Linked DNA regions of Homo sapiens: regions 1 and 2 are each linked to region 3. The links are contacts of gene promoters, found by promoter capture Hi-C in blood cells and fetal thymus (Javierre and others, 2016). All regions are on one chromosome and are shown on one strand. Each heading gives the region's core, a stretch centred on a gene start or on the middle of the fragment in contact. The rest is flanking DNA. Distances are from core to core; before and after follow the strand shown.

Region 1 (2,770 bases), core at 178-2,677, 320 kb after region 3:
CATATACCTTCCATTACTCCGTATTTCTTTTCCACAGCTCACAAGCACACTCTGATTAGGGGATGACTCTCTTCTGGTGTGCGTTTAGACAAATTGTACATTGTTTCATGGCAGAGACATTTGGGATTGTTTTGAAATAAAAATGAATAATTTAAGTGACAAATGTCAAGAATTATCTTTTTTAACAAAATACATTCAATATAGTTGGATAAATTAGATATATAGATGACATAATTGATGCACAAAGTAGAAATATCTATACCAGCAGTGTATCCTGATATATTAAATCTCTAAAGAGTGTAGCATGGAGAATAATTAGGAAAGAAAGGATTGGAGAGAGATTTGGAATATATGCAGAGAAAGATTGTATCTTCTGAGGATGTTGAAGAGTGTGTAGGTTTTGAAGAAGTGATGGGTGCTGATTGAGGTGATGTAAGGGATAGAGAGAAGAGCACGAAGACAGGAGTGCATACACTATTTGAAAGCAATAAAAAGTGATGAGTGCCACATCTAAGCAAGGTGTTAAGCTCTGAATTGCAGTTTGCCATGCTTTCTTTTCCCCTTTCTGTGAGCCTGGCAATTTTTTAGACAGGGGCTGCTTTATCAGCTTGAATTGCAGGGTGAAGAAACATGAAGCAGAGTCTTCTGACAACTCATTATCATATCGTAGAAATAGAACTTTCTTATTGTTAGCCAGGAAGATTTTTGTGGAACTTATTAATGTAGCATTTTCTACCTTATAACACTGGTTGGCAGGCAATTTCAGTATCCCAGGCATAAAGGGCTAAGGATTCAGGCAATGAAGGACAGGAGCAAAATCTAAAAGTCATTGGGAAGGAAGGCTTGAAAGACCTTGGTGACTGATGGGTTACGAGGTACAAAGATTTAGAAGAAACTGTGACATAACCTTAATGATTTTGGTTTGAGAAAATAAATCATCAAAATGAGGAAGCAAGGGTGGAAACAAGTGTGGAAGGTAGATTTTTAATAGGTGGGAGAGAGACCCTTAAATCCTTTTTATGAAATTAAAGATAGTATAAGATGATGTTAAAAAAAAAAAAAAGAATCATCAGAAAGAGTCCATTTGGAAAATGTGGTAGTTTAGAGAAATTTCATAGTACTTAGAATGTGAAACAGATCCAATGGAAAGCTGTTGTTTCATTATGTTTTGTTTTAAAGTTTGGCTATACATTTGCATACTTAAAATAATAAAAACATATAGGAATCCAGCAGTGCAGGAAAGATGCCGTGGACATAAGTGGTAAAATATGAGTTCTAAGGTCCACAGAAATTAGGAAGGGATGTGACTGAGAACATACACGGAGGGGTAATCTTTGGAGAAAGGAGAGTAAATATCTATTAAAATTTTAGAAGGAAGGGCCGGGCGTGGTGGCTCACGCCTTTAATCTCGGCAACGTGGGAGGCTGAGGCGGGCAGATCATGAGGTCAGGAGTTTGAGACCAGCCTGGCCAACATGGTGAATCTCTTTCTCTACTAAAAATACAAAAATTAGCTGGGCGTGGTGGTGGGCTTCTGTAATCCCAGCTACTCAGGAGGCTGAGGCAGGAGAATCACTTGAACCCTGGAGGCAGAGGTTGCAGTGAGCCGAGATCCTGAGATTGTGCCATTGCACTCCAGCCTGGGTGACAGGGTGAGACTCCATCTCAAAAAAAAAAAAAAAAAAATTAGGAGGAAGAGGATAAATGTAGAAATGGATATGCACTGAGATGAAATCAGACACTGGTAAAGTTCAAGATCTTGATGATCCCAGAGCATCAGTTTTCCACTAAAGTCAGTGAAGTTATCTGCTAAGTGGGACAGAAGGAGAGGGGCAGGTGAGAGCAGAGAAAAGAGAAGTTTTGAAATTGCCACAGAGAGGAGAATACCTGGTTGTGATTACAGGATTGCCAAACACAGAGGGCCCGTTTGAAGTTAGACTGTATGAATTCATAATGCTCCAATTCTGAATAATCCTCTGTCTTCTCTCAGTAGTGTTCAGTGTCCTGGGAACAGGCAGATCAAGCTCACAGTGAACAGGCAGAGAAAGCTCACGTTGAGGGTGATCCAGGTTTGTGATTCTTACAGATTAGGTTATTTGCACAGGTCATACTTATAGTTCTCTTTAATCTGTTCTCATTGTTTCTTCATAAAAATACAGTGTCTTTTCACAGATACATTTTATATTCCTGTGGTTCTGATGATCTTCACACTAGCTTGAAATTCATCTCTTTAACCACTGGAGCCTAGATTTCTTTTTTACACTTGGCTCTTTATAAACTATGATATTAATTTTTGGATAATTTTTCTACCTTCTCATTTTTTTCACTTTGATAGGCTTTTTCAAATAACTTTTATTGGTGAAAAAGTTATCTATAGTTTTTAATAAAATTTTGTCATCTCATTTAATTCATCTGTCAGTTACTTAATCATTATTTCATGCTGAATATGTGCCAGGTGCTATGTTAAGGGCCAAGGATACAAAGATAAAGAAAACAAGGTACCTGTCTTTGATGTGTTTATAGAGATCAAAAGTCTACTGGGCAAGTTCCTAAACTTTGTATAACTTGTGTTACAATGGCTTCTGTTCTCATTTGGTATTGGGCAAGTTCCCCTCACCCCACATACTTTTCATTAAATTTGTAATATTTGCGAATTTGAAAAGTAAATTTTCATTACATTTGGTTTATTAATACGTAGTTCCCCACTGCTGGGGCTGATATTTATTGTTACGACCACCTTATCCCACTAGGCACCACAGTCCCCACTGGGT
Region 2 (2,700 bases), core at 79-2,578, 270 kb after region 3:
CATGGCCTGAGTATAGCTGCCTGATTATTAGGGATTGCAGGCATGAGCCACTGTGCCCAGCTATGAGGTAAATATTATCAAGAACACTTCTTCACTTAGAAATATTAAAAATTATTAGGTGTCTGCATGTTCTCATAAGTGGGAGTTGAACAATGAGAACACATGGACACCGGGAGAAGAGCATCACACACGGGGGGCCTGTTAGGGGGTCAGGAGCTAGGGGAGGGATAGCATTAGGGGAAATACCTAATGTAGATGACGGGTTGATGGGTGCAACAAACCACCATGGCATGTGTAGACCTGTATAACAAACCTGCACATTCTGCACATGTATCCCAGAACTTAAAGTATAATAAAAAAAAAATTATTAGGTGTCAACGATATACCAGGCCCCATGTAAGGTACTGGTGGTGTGTTACATACAGATACAGGAGCCAGTCATTTCTGTTTGTCTTTTTTTTTTTTTTTTCAGAGATGGAGTCTCGCTTTGTTGCCCAGGCTGGAGTGCAGTGGCACAATCTGGGCTCACTGCCAGCTCTACCTACCTGATTCATGCCATTCTCCTGCCTCAGCCTCCTGAGTAACTGGGACTACAGGTGCCTGCCACTATGCCTGGCTAATTTTTTTGTATTTTTAGTAGAGACAGGGTTTCACCATGTTAGCCAGGATGGTCTCGATCTCCTGACCTTGTGATCTGCCCGCCTTGGCCTCCCATAGCGCTGGGATTACAGGCGTGAGCCACCGCGCCTGGCCTCTGTTTGTCTTTTATAATCTTTCCATCTTCTCACCTATCCTCCCTCACCTTTCTGAATGGGATTGCAATGATTTATGACAAGCACACACAACAAACAAATGGAGACTGAGAAACTCAGTCATGACCAAAGGAGGCATTAATAAGAGTACGGAGTCAAGAAAAAACTTTTGGCCCAGCGTGGTGGCTCACACCTGTAATTCCAGCACTTTGGGAGGCCAAGGTGGGTGGATCACTTGAGCTCAGGAGTTCAAGACCAGCCTGGGCACTATGGAGAAACCCTGTCACTACAAAAATACAAAAATTAGCCAGATGTGGTGGTGCACACCTGTAGTCCCAGCTACTCGGGAGGCTAAGGTGGGGTGATTGCTTGAGTCCAACAGGTGAGGCTTCAGTGAGTCAAGATCGCTCCACTGCACTCCGGCTTGAGTGACAGAGGGAGATCTTTCTCAAAAAAAAAAAAAAAAAAAAAGCAAATAGCAAGAAAGAAAGAAAAAATCTTTCAGACCGTAAAGGCCTATGTGGTTATTATACTTGTGCTGACATTAGGCTTTGGGTTTCCTGGCAATCAAAGCAAGCAGAAAGACCTATTGCTCTTTTTCAGAAAGGAAAGAGGATTTCAGTTCCTCAGGGAAGGCAAAACTGTTTGTTTTTAGCACTAAGTTCTGAAAAGCATTTTCAATGTGGTGCTTTATATAAGGGGCACTGAACAAGATAATAGACAACATGCTTGACTTCTTCCAAATAGCAAGCACATGAATGGAATCTATATGACGACTTCTTGTGTTGTCTTTAGATAATAGTGATATAACCTTAAAATGCATCTCAATGGATGCGATTATGTGGGGACTTGGCTCTGACGAAACGAAGCTGCCTAGACAAGATGAATTTTATCCATAGATAAAATTCCAAGAACCAGTCCAAGAAAAAGAGTTGAACAAATCCAGTTTTTCCTTGGGAAACGTTCATCTTCACTATCAGCAGTTTCTTAGCCATTTGAGTGCCCCTTTCTGGCTCCAATACAGTTGGCGGTCTTTTGTTTAATTTTGGCATCTTGCTCTCAGCTAGCTGTTATTATAATTCTCATAGCAGTCATAAATGCCATTGGAGCCCTAAGAGTTAAGAGTTTTGGACTTGCTGAGTTTTGAAAAGTTTAAAATTCCTTTAAAAAATAATCGTTGAACTCTTCAGAGTTTTTTATATGCTAATATATATTGTGACTCTGTAAGAGAGAAAAATAATGTTCAGTATTTCTTCATCATATTTGATCATGGAACCCCTTAGTCATGTATCAGATACCTGTTGGGAAATGCTGTTGAAAGTTATTCTTTGTTAATGACTTTTAATGTAGACATTACAAGATCCCTTGCAGGGATATTGGCACTTTAGTATAGGATTAATGATGGTCAACAAATGTTTGAAATTGAAAGCTATGAATTTTTAGTAAAGCATCCTTGGTGCCCTGGCAAGTAGATGAAATATATTTGGGCAGGTGGAACTTTCTAGAATCCTCATGTCATACCACGTATTTATAAGACCAGCCCTCACAATCTTGGTCATGGCCTAAAAGTCTTTCTTCATCTATAAAATCAAGATTGTATTCTTCAGCTTAATCTTTGAATATCAACTGAATAAAATAATCAAAATACTGTTGAGACATTTGAAATGTAATCATTTTAAACTACCACTTAAAAAGAATAGAGCATAATAATAATCTTTGGGCAAAATTTATAAAGAATACGCTAGAGAATGGCTTTCTTTTTTTTTTTTTGAGACGGAGTCTCGCTCTGTCGCCCAGGCTGGAGTGCAGTGGCGTGATCTCGGCTCACTGCAACCTCCGCCTCCCGGGTTCAAAAGCGATTCTCCTGCCTCAGCCTTCCGAATAGCTGGAATTACAGGCACACGGACGCCACCACGCCCGGCTAATTTTTTTGTATTTTTAGTAGAGA
Region 3 (2,700 bases), core at 46-2,545:
AGGGCCAAGAAGACCTCAGGCGTCTTGAGTAAGTAGGCGTCCTCCACCCACACTCAGAGCAAAAGGCTCCCATTTTAAATATCGCACGGTGACGTCATCCTGGGACCTCGTCACCGCGGCGGCTGCTCCTCAAGTTCTACTTTGTTCCACAAGGCTCCTCTGCTCACGGCTGCGTGGATAAAACCCAAAGGGAATCCAGAATCAAGCTCGGCCTCGCAGGAGTTTATAACTTTTGTACTTTTCCCTCCCTTGTAACGAAAAGCTAATCGCAAACGTTTCTAGGAACACATTTTTCTCCTGATAGACGTTCCCAAGGTGGAGGGCGCGAGAAGACTGGCCCGTGGGGTGAGGAGCCCCGGCCCGACCTCAGCGGCGCCACAAAGCCATGAAGAGGGGAAATAATTTTCCAAGGGGCTAAGAGTTGGACTTTCTGAAGCCATCGAAACCTGCTGCTAGGCTCTCCCGCTGGGGTTTTGAGAGAGGTAGGTGAGGAGGGATCAAACATCTCCACCCGCTCTTGAAAGAACCGCCTTGAGCTGCGCCCAACTTCTGCAATCCCGGTTTTCCCCAAGTTCAAGGGGAAGGGCCCTGGCGCCCAATGCCCAGCCTCCCCGACAACATCCTCGCCAGGGTGCGCCTGCCCCGCGGGTCCGCTGTCCCCGGCGGGCGGCCCTGGGTTCGAGGACCCGGCTTCCCGGAGGCGCGACTCTCCAGCAAACAAGCGGAGCTCCAGAAAAAACACCGACGCGAAGGGGGTGGACAGAGGGTGGGAAGCCGCGGGGTTGTCGCCCACCCGGAGGCGGAATGTAACGCGCTGTGGGAAACGTGGCAGGAGCCCTGAGGCGGCGTCTTTTTCCTCAGGCGCCCGCCGAGGGTCCCGCGGAAAGCCTCGCGGGCCGCCCTCGCGGCCCGCAGCCCCGCTCTGGCGCCGAGCCGGAGCCCATGCAACCTGGTTCCATCCCCTGCCCCTCCCCTGTCCCCGGTGCGCCGCCCGCCAGCGAGCCTTCGACGTGGCCGCAGGGGCGACGGGACCACCCTCCCCCGATACCCACAGCCCCGCCATGTCTGCCTTTCCCCGGCCCGGTCTCCTCACCGCCGCTGCCGCCGCCGCTCTTCGGCCGGAGATTCGGCGGCCCAGACCGTGTCCTGGCCGGGAACTGAGGGCTCCGCCTCAACGGGCCCGCGCTGGGCAACAGGGAGCGCAGCGAGCCTCGTCCGGCGCGTGCGGCTCCCGCGTCGTCGGGCGGCCAAGCGCGCGTTGAGAGGACTGGCGGGCGGACGAGCGCGCACACGAGTGAGCGCAGCCCCAAAGCGGCGCGCAGGGGGCTCGCGGCCCGGAAGAGGGGAGGGGCGATGACCCGGGAAAGGGTTGGCGCGCGCGGGATCGGCTCGCGCGCCTGAGGGGCGGTGCCGGGGGCGGGGCTTCGCCGCGAGGCCACCCCCGAGCCCCGGGCCTAGCCGCACGGGAGGCGACACACCCTCGCCCTACCCTGAGCCTGGCGCAGACCCTCGACCGCGACGGCGCGGTCCGCAGAACCGCGGGCTTCCCTCCCCGGCAAAAAGCGGCGCTGAAGGCCTGTGGGACCCCCGCCCGGCCGCCCTACGTGCGTCAGCGCCTTCGGGGGTCGCGCGGGCTTGGTCCTTTCGGCTGTCTCGGCCTTTTTGTTTCCCCCTCAGGTCTCTCCACGCTGCACTTGACACCCTCAGGGCGGAATGGCGAGTTCTAGACCCAGCTCTCTAGACCCGGGGCTTCATGGGGGACACGGACTCGACGGGAAGGGGAACTTGGCATTTATGGACAGATCCTCATCCTTCTTGCTGTAGTCAATTACACGCACGTTAACCGTGCAGCCGCCCTGCTGTATTTTAGGCGGTTGTTGGCACTCCTAGTTGGGCCCTTCCCTGGCCCCTCACAGCAGGGCCTGCCTCCTGTGGACGCTTGTGTGCTGCCCTGGCACCGGCCACTGTGTTTTGCATAAAGGAGAGGCTCCAAAGATGTTGGCCAAAGGAATGAAGCCTTGAGAGTCCAGGCTTTCTATTTCTGAGACACTCTACTCAAGGACTTCCCAGATGCAAAGCTTCATCTTTGAGCAAATACAAATATGGAGAGGGAACATTAACTTTCTGAAGAAAAGAAGGAACATCTTTTCAACCTTTTATATTGAGTTAACACCATGGTCTTAGTTTTGTGAAAGCACTTTAATACATCCAACTAGCGGGAGGAATACAAGATATTCCTACCTTTTTATTATTATTATTAAAAGAGGGCTAAACCATGTTGTAAACTACTTAAGAACTGAATGTTCAAGTTGTACAGTATATTGGCCAGATTCCTTACTGCCCACTAGGCTTGGGAGCATGTTTTCAGCTCAGTTTTATGAATGTTTTAAATTTGTATTACTGATCTTTGTTATAGCCAATTAGCAATTCAAAATGGTAATTTTTTTAGCAGTAATAAATATACCATCCCCCAAACAGTACAATAAACTTTATTTGTAAAAAAAAAAAATTATACTCTTCTAGGACTTAGTCTACTTACTGGTACATTTAAAGAGGATATTTACACCTTGGAGTCTTCTAGGAGGTGTGAAGGTGTTTTTATTTTAAAATCATAACAATCTGATGAGGTTATTTTTACAGATAAAGGCCTTTAATTCTGCAGTTTCATAAAATAGCTAGGTAACCACCCACATTACTCAA

What was found. The method cuts DNA at HindIII sites, captures the fragments that hold promoters and counts their contacts. A CHiCAGO score of 5 or more calls a contact.
Region 1: a contact is called between a fragment that was not itself captured here and the fragment with the promoter of BTG3 in region 3, in 2 of 17 cell types (activated CD4 T cells and total B cells). The highest score is 6.0, in activated CD4 T cells.
Region 2: a contact is called between a fragment that was not itself captured here and the fragment with the promoter of BTG3 in region 3, in 2 of 17 cell types (activated CD4 T cells and non-activated CD4 T cells). The highest score is 6.8, in activated CD4 T cells.

Annotation. Positions count from the first base shown.
Region 1 is chr21:17,935,416-17,938,185 of GRCh38, forward strand. It overlaps a transcript of CHODL not described here. Among named protein-coding and RNA genes, the nearest start is that of LINC03147, 51 kb to the left of the region's middle. The HindIII fragment of the contact is 4,723 bases long and covers 1-2,770 here.
Region 2 is chr21:17,881,732-17,884,431 of GRCh38, forward strand. All of the region lies in intron 1 of LINC03147 (long intergenic non-protein coding RNA 3147), which reads right to left. All of the region lies in intron 2 of LOC124900465 (a long non-coding RNA gene), which reads left to right. Among named protein-coding and RNA genes, the nearest start is that of LINC03147, 2.5 kb to the right of the region's middle. The HindIII fragment of the contact is 6,627 bases long and covers 1-2,700 here.
Region 3 is chr21:17,611,606-17,614,305 of GRCh38, forward strand. It overlaps BTG3 (BTG anti-proliferation factor 3), which reads right to left and starts at 1,296. Exons shown (of 5, transcript NM_006806.5): 1 at 1,094-1,296. BTG3-AS1 (BTG3 antisense RNA 1) reads left to right here and starts at 81. Exons shown (of 1, transcript NR_149073.1): 1 at 81-2,509. It also overlaps a transcript of CXADR not described here. The HindIII fragment of the contact is 7,083 bases long and covers 1-2,076 here.